Regions from separate parts of the Homo sapiens genome. Here all the other regions are linked to region 2. The links are contacts of gene promoters, found by promoter capture Hi-C in blood cells and fetal thymus (Javierre and others, 2016). All regions are on one chromosome and are shown on one strand. Each heading gives the region's core, a stretch centred on a gene start or on the middle of the fragment in contact. The rest is flanking DNA. Distances are from core to core; before and after follow the strand shown.

Region 1 (4,405 bases), core at 862-3,361, 260 kb after region 2:
CTTAATTTGTCATCCATAAAATTGGGATGAATCCAAACCTGGAAAGTAATATTTGACTGTAATACCAAGCCATACAGCATTGCCTGATCCACATAAAGCACACTTGATCAGTTTTGTCATTTGCACATGTGGAGAGTTTTCTCAGGCTGAGTAACTCCTGGTATTGGATTCTAGGCATAATCATGTCATTCTTGCTTGTTGGTGCCATGAAATAATTAGCCCACCATGTAAGGGCCCAACTTGATGCTGTGCTTAAGAGTAGAGCCTATATTCTTGATTCTTGTGGAATTTGTGTCTTATATGAAAGTTTGCTTGACCCACCAGTTGCTTCTTTTTGCTTTTAACTGTTAATATAGCTCCAAAAGCTATTGCCCAAATTTGTCAAAATTCATATTTAAAAGTTCTGCTGTTCAATGAGCTAGTCACTAGCCAGATGCAATTATTAAAATTAAAATTAAAAATGTATTTATTCATTTGCACTATCCACATTTTAAGTGCTTGATGCCTGCAGGTGGCTGGTTAGTGGCTACTATGTAGACAGATACAGAACATTTTTCTTGTGGCAGACAATTTTGCTGGACAGTTTTGCTCTAGACTGAAGCTCTGCACACAGTACTTCCCCTGTAATAACTATAGACATCTGGCTAGTTTTTACTGTGTTACAAACATTTTGCTAATTCAAGTTTGGAGACAATGGATTTCATAAAGAAATTATAATAAAATATACCTGTCAATGTACAATGTAGTGTTTCACCATATTATGTAATAAAATATCTTAAGTGCTAGTTTGGAAAATTTGCTGTTTTTTGTTATAGTGTTTTTAACATCTTTTGCCCTCTAGAACATTATTCTCAAATTTTAAATCCATATAACTATTGAAAAATCTGTATAAGTATTGATTTCTGCTTTTACATCTTTAATCATATGAACCAAAAGAAATACAACAATGAATCATCTAATATGTTTGAACAAAAATTGATGGGTTTTTCTTTTTTGAAAGTTTTATTTGGAGCACTGAGCTTGGAATATAAAATAAATAAAGACAACATGGAATTTAAATTTGGATGGGTAAAATAGAAAATGAAGTTTAGAGGCTTGATAGATTGACAGATCAAGAGGGGTAAAACAGAAACTATTGCTATATAAGCTCAGGATGAAATACTAAGTAGAGACCTCAGCCTATACATAAAAAGAGATGGAAAAACTAAGAAAATGCATGTTTGTTTTGCAATTTAAATTTTTATTTTCAGATCTTAGAGGACAACTATATCATTAAATGTTAAGCTTGCTAAAGCAGTATTTTTTAGGTGTCTTTAAAGTAACTTACTACAACTTCCTATATTTTTGCAGCATCTTCTAATGTACATGAAAGTTCAGTGAATGTACATGAAAGTTCAGGGACCACATGCTTAAATACTGGAGTTGAACGGAGAACTAAGCTTGTTTTGAAATAATTTTTGTTGTCCCTGCTTCCAAATTTGTTGTGGTAGTGGTTATATGAGTCTTTTATTTATTAGGAGATTAGGAAACTGCTTTCATAAATGGACATTATACAAGCATCTTCAAGAAACATGTTTCGCTTCTCCAGCTCCAATTAGAAAAGCGGTAATCTCCATCCCAGCCTTCTGGATGGCTGGCCTCTCTTCCTAACTTTCTTACCCGAATACCTCTTTATAGGAGGCTTACTACATGCCATTTGCTATGCTAGATATTGTGGGTAGCAATGATAAAGGCCATCTTCTCTATTTTATTTTTGGGCATCCTCAGGGTTAATGCCGTCATCTTTTCCTTCAACAACTGCAGTGGTCTCCTTAACATTGTCTCTGCTTCTGGATCTTGGTCTCCCACAAACCACTTCTCACAGTCATCAAAACAAACTTCTTCAGATCATAATTCAGATTATGTCACTCCTCTGCTATAAGCCTGTTCTGTTACATTTAGAATGAAATCCAATCTTTTAAAAAATAGAATAAAAAAAAATATATTTTAGGAAGCCATGTCATCAGAAGTGTAATCCAGAGAATAATATACTCTATAGGTCTAAAAAAAGATTTTCTAAATTATGCAATTATATTTTGATAAATACTTATAAATATTCAAATACAGACATCAGTAAAATGAAAAGTGAAACTCATTTCACCCATTTCATTCAATTTCTCCCCCAAGATGACTACTGTTAATTGGGTCTATATAGTTTAAGGCCTTTCCTATGAAATTACGTCCATGTTGTACGTTTGCTTTACATATGTTATGGACTGGAAAATGAAAGCAGTTGTGTGGAAGGGTTCTTATGTTACAGAAGGAAGTCACATTTTTTTAGTTTCCTTTTAACTTTCTTTAAATGAAAAGGAAAGAATGTTTTAAGTTATATCTTCAACTGCTAGAAAGGTAGTATACTTAGAATTTTTATGGCCCTTTCCTAGGGATTTATGATTTTCACATAAAAGAATGAAAATTGAACACACACTGAATTATACTTCTAAAACATACTTGAAATTTTTTGCCTCTCTCTATTCGTGTTACTTAACCAGTGCAAACTTACTGTAAGTAACGAAATCATTGAAGAAATACACAGAAAATGAAAGTAATCCATAATCTCACCTTCTGCTTTCTAGAGATGACTCCTAATATTTTGACAGGTGGCACATACATATGCATGTATGTATGTGCATATATGTACATTATATATGTGTGTGTGCATGTGCATATTAAACTTGATATTCAGTGGAATCATAATACATAATGTTTTGGTTTCCTTAATTAGGTTATTGTGAAAAGCTTTCCTCTTCATATTCTATTTTTAAGCAACCTGTCCCAATCTGACAATTTCTCACTCTTAGTTTAGTGGTTTTGAGCTGTGGCATACTGGTGTTCCCTGACAGTGGTATTGCAGGTGTTGAAAAATTTGTAGTGTGATAACCTAGCCTATAGGGTGGAGCCTGGAACTATGACAGTTGTCTTTTTACTTCAAGGTGCCACACAGTTGTTGTCATCTCCTGTTTGTTTTTCATAATATAAAAGCATTTGGGAAGCACTGCTAAAAATCCATGCTTTCCCTGTCTCCCTCCTCAAACATGGACCTCCCCACACTTCTCCCAGCTTCCCTTATTACCTCTCTGAGGCTCTTCTCCTCACAGCAGACTGATCTTTTAAAAACACATGTCAGATATCAGGAACTTAGGAATTCTACCCCATATCCTCCACTGGCTTCTCAATGGAGTCAATAAAATCCAAATCCAGTTATTGGCTAGCTCCACGTTAAATTGTCTTCTGCTCTCTGCCTCCCTCATTCAGCTTTCTGATCGTGGAATGCTCCAAGATCATTCGTATCTCAAAGTCTTTGTGCCTGTCATTCCCTCCGCCTGGAATGGCATTACCTCCATCTTCCCATTCTGGTCTCTACTCATATTTTGCCTTCTCAGAGGCTGACCTAATTACCCCGTCTCTACCCTTCTGTTCGTTAACTCCTTTGCCTCCTTGCCTTAGCACTTTGGTCACTGTTCCATATGCTTGTTTAGTGTCTTTCTTCCATACTAGCCTGTTTTCCATGAAGACATCAACTTTGTTTTATGTTTTTCATCTCTTGTACATATCAGGTGCTCGAGAAATAATTATCTAATGAAAAAGTACATATACAATGAAAAAAGTACATAGCGAAACTAACATTTTTATTCAGTATTTGTTTCCTTTATTTCATTTTCCCAGTGCCTTGGATTTTTCTGGTCAGTTATCTCTAGTGTTAGCATGAGCACTTCAGGAAGAGGTAAGGGAGAGATATTAGCCAGTTAAACCATGCATGATTACTCTGTGATATCAGTTTTATGTAACATATTTTGATCTTTTTAACATAGTCAAATGGATGTTGTAACACTTGCTTGATTTAACATTATATTTTGGTCTTTATTATAGAAATTTTAAGGAATTTCACATAATCACTATTTTCTTATAGAAGAATATAGGGACAAGCAGAATGGTGATTTTCTTAAAGGCCTTATTTCTTAAAGAGAATAAAATTTAGTTTATGTATAAAGAAAATGATTTTATTCTCAGACACTTTCCTCCCTGTGTGTATCCCCTCAAATTATCACATTTAAATAATTCTCAGTGGTCCTAATTGATTTCTGAATAAAATATATTCTGGCCATTTTTCTTTCTCCCAGGATTTATTATGAGCCATGACAATAAAGTTTAGGTCTATTTACAAATCAGAGAACCTTCATATTTTTGAGAACTGGAACTTTGAACTAGATTAGTTGAGTATATCATGTTGGTTTTTTTGGTGACACGCAGTATAGAGAAAATTAAAAATGAATTTCCATCACACCTATCTTTGAAAACTGAATTTAGCTTAAATTGAAAGGGGTGAAAAGTTGGCATTTTATTACATCATTTCACTTATCTTATA
Region 2 (3,976 bases), core at 414-2,913:
ACATTTCTTACAAGAGTAGAACAGATGAATTAGTATACAGACAGTAGGGTTTTGTTTGTTTTTACTGGGAAAAATTGCTGCTAAATTTTAGGAAGTTCTGCTGTCCTCAAAAAGAAAAATATGTCCCTCAGTTTTTTGTTACCTGGGATCTAGGAATGTTCTCTAATTAAAGAAATGGAATGGTGATGGTGTGTTGAAAGGTATAGGTTAATGAGTTAAAAAAAAAAAATCTACATTGCACCCTAAGGAAGGATGAACTTAACTATGCTGAACTGAATTGACAAGGGTTGAGCTAGTCAGTGTGCTAATGAGCAGGCTACTATTCTCATAGAATTTTTAAAAGTCTTTTCTGCCTGATATGTATGTGTGTATAATATGTATTTATATATGTATATATTTGTGTGTATATTTATTACATTTTTGTTTCCACAGGCTCTGTCATAAGTCTGGTCATTAATAGCATATATTTGATTAAAAGAATATGTGGCTTGGTAAATTATGTGAATGTTATATTAAAATGAATTTCACATTGTCTTGATTTACAAAGGCTAAGATGTCTGAGAAACTGAGAGATGTCAATCAACAGACTATTGTTTTAGCAATTGTACATAACACATAAAAATTCTGAATCAAAGTTATTATGTTATTCAATTGTGACCATACCTATTTTTTGTGACATTTTACAAAAATGAATAAAGTATGCACCATACAGTCTTACCACAGAAGTAAGGCAGGGTGGCATATGGCGAAACCACTTCAAGCTGCTGAAGTAGTTAACTGTGAAATATTTTACTGTCATAATATAGCATTATTTTCTGCCAGATGAATCATTCCGAAGAAGCTGTTTTCATGGTCAGTGTAAAAGTCCTTTTGTTAAATACTTATGTCTTAACTACCTACTAGATATTAAAAAAAACAAAACCACACACACACCAGACCTAGGTGCAAGGAAGGGATAATAAGCCCTGATGCAGTTCTTAGGTGAGAACTGGAAAGGGGCCGGAGGGTTTCAGAGCAACAAGCAAAGTCAGTGAAGCAGAGTAAATCCAAATACTTGGCCAATGACAAATAAACCAGAAAGGAGACACGCCAGCTGTTCACGCTGGAAAGTTACTGATCGTTTATTCTGGTTCAAGTTTTATTTATTCTATGAATAAGGGACAAGTTTTCGATGGGGGTGGGGTGTCTTATTCCTTATTACAAGAATAAGGAACGGGGAGTTTTCAAGGCAGGCGGGTGTTTCCTCAGGGCGCTTCCACACTCCCCTTTCAATCAGCAACCGCTCGGGGGGACCTCCACCTTGGGACGGAACCCCAGGACGCCTCTCCTCGGACGGCGGGGGTTTCTCTGCGCGCGTCCTCGGTCGTCTGGTCGCACGGCTTACCGAACTCTCGCCTCTCAAATTCTGAGTTCTGGAACAGGGCAGCGAGCTGCGCCGGCTCCCCTTTCTCGCTCGCTCCCTCCGAGCAGCGGCTGGCGGCGGGGCCCAGGCTGCGAACAAAGGCGGCGCGGGGCGCGCGGCCGGGGCTGGCGCGCGTCTCTCCGGCAGGAGGCGGTGGCGGCGCCGCGCCCGAGCCCGCATTCCTCAGAAGCGCCCGGAGCCCGCGGGGCGACGTCACCCCCGGCTCCGCCCCCGTCCCTCCCCGAGCAAAGTAACTCTTGACTAACAGGAGCAGCCTCCGCCGAGCATGGAGAGCTGCCGCCGCGGCCGGCCGGCGACGCTGGCGACGCTTTCGCCCCTGAGGTAGTTTGGCGACCGCGAAGAAGGAAAAAGGGCGGGCGGGCGGCTGTCCTCTCACCGTCCTCACCCCGCGAGGCCCGGCCCGCTCCTCCGTCGTGGATTTCGCGGCGATCCCCCCGGCAGCTCTTTGCAAAGCTGCTTGAAACTTCTCCCAAACTCGGCATGGATACGACTGCGGCGGCGGCGCTGCCTGCTTTTGTGGCGCTCTTGCTCCTCTCTCCTTGGCCTCTCCTGGGATCGGCCCAAGGCCAGTTCTCCGCAGGTGAGTGGCCGGGGGGCGTCCCCGACGAACGCCTGGAGTCCTGGGCTCACGAGGGGTGAGCCAGGTCCCCGCTAGGGCTGGGGACAAGGATCGTGGGGAGCTCTCTCTGTCCGGGGGTGGGGAACACAGGGTAGAGGGAGGGCTGTCCCCAGAGTTCGTGCCAGGTGGGACGCGGGGCACCCATTGTTCCTCTCCGAAGCTTGCTCGGGGCTCAGGCTGGCACGGTCTAGCCGGAGAGTGTGGGGACCTGCTGGCTTCGGCGTCTCGCGTGGCCTGCGCCGGGCTAGTGGGGAAGAGAGAAAGAAAAAGTAGTTACGACTCCCGTGACGGCACTCTGTTGCTTGTGGTGCGGGTTTGTTGCTGTCTGCCACTTGGGTGTTTAAACAAATTCCCTGGGAAGCCATTGTCAGAAATGTGGAGATTCGAAGGGACTGACCTCGGCGCGCTTTGCCAGGTGCTTTTTGTCCCGGGAATAACCTCCCCTGACTATTGTCTAACTACTTCCCCGTCCCTCCCGGAGTCCCCTTTTCTCCTCCCCCAGCTCTGGGTTGCTCCCGGGCTTGCCCTGTGCGCTCGGGCACTGCTTGGAGCATGTTCTGTGTGTGTGTTGGCGGAGCCCTGTAAGATGTGTTGAAATGCGGTTCTAAGGACCCACTCTGAGCGTTCATGGGCATCGAGGTCTGGGCGCCTGGTGGAGGAAGCCTGACTCGCGCGTGGGAGCCCGCTCCTCGGGCAAAACCACCGCCAGGCTGGCCCCGCGCTCCCCGGATCCGGCCTGGGGCTCTGGCCCCGCGCTCCCCGGATCCGGCCTGGGGCTGGAAGCGGACTGTAAATGTCTGCCTTCTGCCGGAGAACCCAAAAGGAGACAAGTGGAGCGTCTCGCTGTAGCCCTGGGGGTTCTCGGTCAAGCCGCTCAGAGAAGTCCGTGAACCCTGGCTCTCCCGGTCCCGCCCTCTGTTCCCCTCCAGTTTTGTTATCCTTCGTGTAGGTTGGTTGCTTCTTTCGTTCTCTCCTCTGGGGGCTCTGAAGTTTCACCAGGTGGACGCTGGGGAGCGGGCTCCCGAGCACTTGTCTACCTCCCGCCAGTCCTGACAACTTTTCTGGCCAACCTACCCAGCTTCGCTTGGCTGGCGAGCGCATCTGCTGCTGGGGTTCGCGGTGCAGATGGAGACGCAGTGGTGGCCAGAGGGTGATGGAGAAGACGGGAAAAGCGACAGCCACGCTCCTGGCTGAAGCCGCAGGACGCAAATAACTTACTTTGTACCTGACAGTTTCTCACGTTGTTGTGGAGGCCCTGTTTCCTGGAAATAAACTCAAATTGTTGTTTTCTGGAGTAATCGTTTATTTCCCTTCCATTGCTCTCCTACCCCCGCCCCATTTAGAACTCTGTAAAGGGAGTTAAACAACAGATTCAGGTGGCAGCATGTGTCGTACATTCAGGCAGAGATTATGAAATGGCAGCACGCAGAGGAAAAGCCCTGTATATAATTGATGTACGCAGAGGGTAACAGCTCTATGCAAAAAATAATCCAATGGTTTAATTGAATTCTTTCTGGAGTAAGCATTACTGCATGCATTTCTGACATATAATGCCCGTTAGCATTGAAACCGTGCTTGATGTAACTCATTATATGCAGGCAAGTTGGAGTGAGTATTGATTTCTGCACAGTGTTTGTCACTGCACGGAGAGCCTACGCTTGAAAAGGCTTGTAGTTTGTTAATTGAAAGTTTGAACTCTACCAGTTGCATAATTAAACTTACATGTATTCAAGAGTTGCAACTATTAATGTCTCAACAGCGATGGATATATTTTCAGCAGTTAGAAAACTTTTTCTCTTTTTAAATGTTATTTACCCTTTAATTAACAAATAAATACTACTTTTCCTCCAGCTGAATGTGAAAATGAGCTTTTCTGATACCTGGAGTTTAGATACGTACAATAAACAATTGTGTTCTTAGATATCTAGTTCTAA
Region 3 (4,043 bases), core at 1,542-4,041, 470 kb after region 2:
GTGGTCCCACAGACCTTGTCAGAGCCTGAGTCGGATGGAGGAGGCAGTCTCACAGAGTATCAGCCTCGTGTGGCATTTCAGAAGTCAGTTAGATTCAGAAGCTTGTCTTCATGGGGACGGTGGGTGGCACAACCCCATGTGGGAAGTCAGAGCTTGAGCAGGGAGTAGAGTGTCCACATGTGGAGGTGAACTGTTGGGGTTTTGGAGCCCAACTAGGGTGAGTAGAACATCAACACAGTAGGCAATCCACCTTGGGAAATCAGAGCCCAAGTGTGGTGAAAAGGGGACTTGTCAGGGACGCATAGCATGGTGTGAGGTATCAGAATCCAAACAAGATGAAGAGCTTGGGGGTGGGGAGTCAGACTCTGAGGGAGGTTAAGAGGGTGTCCACGCAAGAGGGTGGCCCATACAGCATGTCAGAGCCTTATCAGTCTAGGTGTGTGAACTTCCAGGCAGAGGTTGATCATGTGCCGGTTGCCTGAGTCTGCATGGAGTGAGGAGCACAGCCGCACAGGGAAGGAGGTGACAGCAGAGATGGCAGAGATTACGTGTGTGGCAGGGTGTGGGGGTGCAGGGAGAAAGTTAAAAAACACAGGTGAAACTGTGTGTATAGGGGTGTGTGTGTGTGTGTGTGTGTGTGTGTGTGTGTTCCATACACATAGTCCACTGAGACAGCCTGGGAGCAACAACATACTGATGGAAAATATGCCTAATATCCAGATGTTGGTGTCTAAATACCATTATCCAATAAAAGTACCTGGGGCTCTTTGGATAAATGGCTCATTCCAGGGCTGGAACAAGGAAAGTACAACATGAAACTAGATTATTATTATTATTTGCCAGAAAGCGCTAAAAAAATAATGAGGGCATAGCAAGAGGACACAATTGCCAACCTCAAGGGGGCCCCTCATTGGCTGAACTAGAGGCCTATTACTTGAGAATCAAAATAAAGATGGTGATTGATTATAACACTGAATAAAATAGGAAAGCACAAGTCCTTACTGATATAAATAGAGAAAGATGGATGAGAAACCAGGTATTTACATAGTTTCAAAGTAGCTCCCAAAAACTTAATAATTATAAAAGGGTACAGATTAACCTCACATTGGAAGAGCCTAGCAGATGCTTTGACCAAATGATGAAGGTGAACAGTATCCATGTTGGGAAAGACATTATGGTTTCCCACTAGGATGCAAGAAAAGCACAGCATCACTTTTGTGATATTCCAACCAAAGATGTATATCCTTAATCTAAACATTTAAAATATCAGACAAATCCAAATTGAGGATATTCTACAACATAACTGAGCTATAATTTTCAAAAACGTAAGGCCTTGAAAGTGAAGGGAAGGCTGGACTGCGCAGGCTGAAGGGGACCAAAGAGATATAGCAACTAAATATAACTAATTAGATCATTTAGATACAAAGAACATCATTAGGACAATTGGGAATTTTGAATGGGATCTGAAGTTTAGACAGTAGTTAATTTTCTTAAGTTTGAACGTCATTTTGTGATCTATAGGAAAATGTCCTTGTTTATGGGAAATACTAAAGTATTCTGGATAATGGAGGCATCAGGGCAGTCACTTACTCTTCATGCTTAGTAAAGTGAAAACAAGGGAGTAGTGTATTTGCAAATTTTCTGTAACTTTGTGTGTTTTTCCAACATATAAGTGAATTTTAAAGCTGTTATACTAAAATATGGGGAGCAGATGAGTGATTACATTAAAGAATAAGAAATAAGGATATGGAGGATATGATGGTGGAGTACAAGTTAACATGTCTTGGTGTGTATCTGCTGTGAACAAGGAAGCTGAAGACTTAAATATGATGCTGAACTTCTGTCCTGAGCCAACCACACTAGGAAGATGTGATGTCAGTCACAGAGACAGAAAACACTAGAAACAAAGGCTGAGATTAAAAAAAAAATGATTTATGCCATTTTGGAAAAGCCAAGTGTAGGGTACCAAAAAATAGCTAACATAAATGTAATTGGAAAAACTAGAAATAAAAGTGTGGAGAATGTCTGGAACTAGAGAACTTAGAACTTGGGAGTGGTAAAAACATATGAACAAGATAATATAGAAAGATGAGGAGAGCTCCTTGCAGGATACCCATCTTGAGACAGTAGGAGGAAGAAAGTGAGGTAGGAGAGAAGCTAGAATAGAAGCAACCGGATCGAAAGATGCATAACCAGTGGAGTGCCTTGTCACAACACTGACGAAAGGAAGATATACCAAGAAGGGGCTTATAAACGATAGTTAATATTTTAAGCAGCATGGAAAGCTCAAATAAAATAGGATGAGAAGAGGCAACTGGGTTTGCAAACTGGGATGTCTATGGTTGAGTTTAGAAAAGGGAGCATTCAATTAGAGTGACTGGGCAAAAAGATAGCGAATAGAAGCAAGACTTTAGCATGAACTGGAGCTGAGAAAATAAAGTGGTTGGGGAGACTTTCTTTTCCAGAAATACATTACTGATAAAAAGGAGATTGCTAGGACTTTAATTTAGGAAAGAATTATTAAGCATGGTAGAGACTGGAGCATATTTTATTTATCAGAGGAAACCTACCAATGGAGCAAAAAATATTGAATATATATAAGAAAGAATACATTTCTAGAGGAAGTAGGCAGTGATATAATTGAACAAATGCAGAAACATATCTTTTAAAACAATAGGGAATAATTGAACCTGTGAGGGCAAATGGACAAGTGACACCAACAGAAAAAATTGAGAAGTGTATTAGATTATCCATTTAAACAAATTAAATGAAGTCCTGTGCAGAGAGTACAAGTATCAGATGTGGAACAAGAGACCAGGAAATTTTTAAAAGTTTGAAAATTCTTGAAGAACAATGTGAAAGAATTTAAATCTAAGAACAATTAGCATACATACTGAAATAACATCATTTTGAAAATTTTTCAGCGTGTAAAAATCATTCTAAAAAATTCCTAGTATCGGCTGTATGCCATGACTCGTGCCTGTAATCCCAACACTTTGGGAGGCAGAGGAAGGAGGATTGCTTGAGCCCAGGAGTTCAAGATCAGCCTGGGCAATATAACAAGACCTATTTCTATAAAAACTTAAACTAAAAATTAAAAATGCTTAGTGTAATAGTTTGTTTCCTGCCTTGTATCTCTGGTGGCAGCCAGCACATAAAGAGAATAAAGACCTTGGCTTGACTATTAAACATATGAATTAAATAATCAGCATCATAATGTTTAAAATAAATAGTCATGTGGTTACATATTATGATGCAAGAGAAGAGATATCCTGGGAGTTATGTTCATTGCAGTTGAGACAAATAAAGTCACTGAGAAGATATGCTTCAAGAATGGAGTGGAAGAGTTTATCTCAATTGTACTAGAAATCAAGAAAGGCTTTCCATTTATAAAATAGCCTATTCAAAACCAGAATTGTTCTAAAATATGAAACGGAATTTGGTTAGCTGTATATTTGAAAGCAAAAAGGAGAATACGTCTCAAGGAAGGTGTCTGTGATACATTAAGAACATGGAGCAACACTAGAGAGTCACTTGTACAATGAGACAGGATCATTGTGCAACTTGCATGCTCACTGTCTTTAGGTTCAGTTCTCTCTACTGAAAAAATACTGTTTGAGATTGTTTGATATTGATTTGCTCTATCTATTTTTTTTTTTCTTGAGGCGGAATTTCACTGTTGTTGCCCAGGCTGGAGTTCAATGGCGTGATCTCCGCTCACCACAACCTCCACCTCCTGGGTTCAAGCAATTCTCCTGCCTCGGCCTCTGAAGTAGCTGGGATTACAGGCATGCGCCACCATGCCCTGCTAATTTTGTATTTTTAGTAGAGATGGCGTTTCTCCGGGTTGGTCAGGCTGGTCTTGAACTCCCGACCTCAGGTGCTCCACCCGCTTTGGCCTCCCAAAGTGCTGGGATTACAGGCGTGAGCCACCGCACCTGGCCTATCTTTGTATATGTAATTTATAAAGTGCCCTAATTCATTATACCCTCATGCACGCACACAAGTATTTGTAAATTAGCAGCTAAGAATTTTGTGCCATG

What was found. Contacts are between HindIII fragments. The CHiCAGO score rates a contact against its expected background, and 5 or more counts as called.
Region 1: a fragment that was not itself captured here is called in contact with the fragment with the promoter of PTPRK in region 2 in 1 of 17 cell types (fetal thymus); the score reaches 5.9 in fetal thymus.
Region 3: a fragment that was not itself captured here is called in contact with the fragment with the promoter of PTPRK in region 2 in 1 of 17 cell types (fetal thymus); the score reaches 5.1 in fetal thymus.

Annotation. Positions count from the first base shown.
Region 1 is chr6:128,257,757-128,262,161 of GRCh38, reverse strand. The region is part of intron 3 of PTPRK (protein tyrosine phosphatase receptor type K); the gene reads left to right. Among named protein-coding and RNA genes, the nearest start is that of PTPRK-AS1, 230 kb to the right of the region's middle. The HindIII fragment of the contact is 1,339 bases long and covers 1,442-2,780 here.
Region 2 is chr6:128,518,286-128,522,261 of GRCh38, reverse strand. PTPRK (protein tyrosine phosphatase receptor type K) reads left to right here and starts at 1,663. Exons shown (of 30, transcript NM_002844.4): 1 at 1,663-2,003. The coding sequence starts at 1,904. RefSeq lists enhancers at 1,301-1,895, 1,896-2,489. The HindIII fragment of the contact is 3,706 bases long and covers 1-2,204 here.
Region 3 is chr6:128,049,756-128,053,798 of GRCh38, reverse strand. All of the region lies in intron 13 of PTPRK (protein tyrosine phosphatase receptor type K), which reads left to right. All of the region lies in intron 1 of PTPRK-AS1 (PTPRK antisense RNA 1), which reads right to left. Among named protein-coding and RNA genes, the nearest start is that of PTPRK-AS1, 24 kb to the right of the region's middle. The HindIII fragment of the contact is 5,375 bases long and covers 104-4,043 here.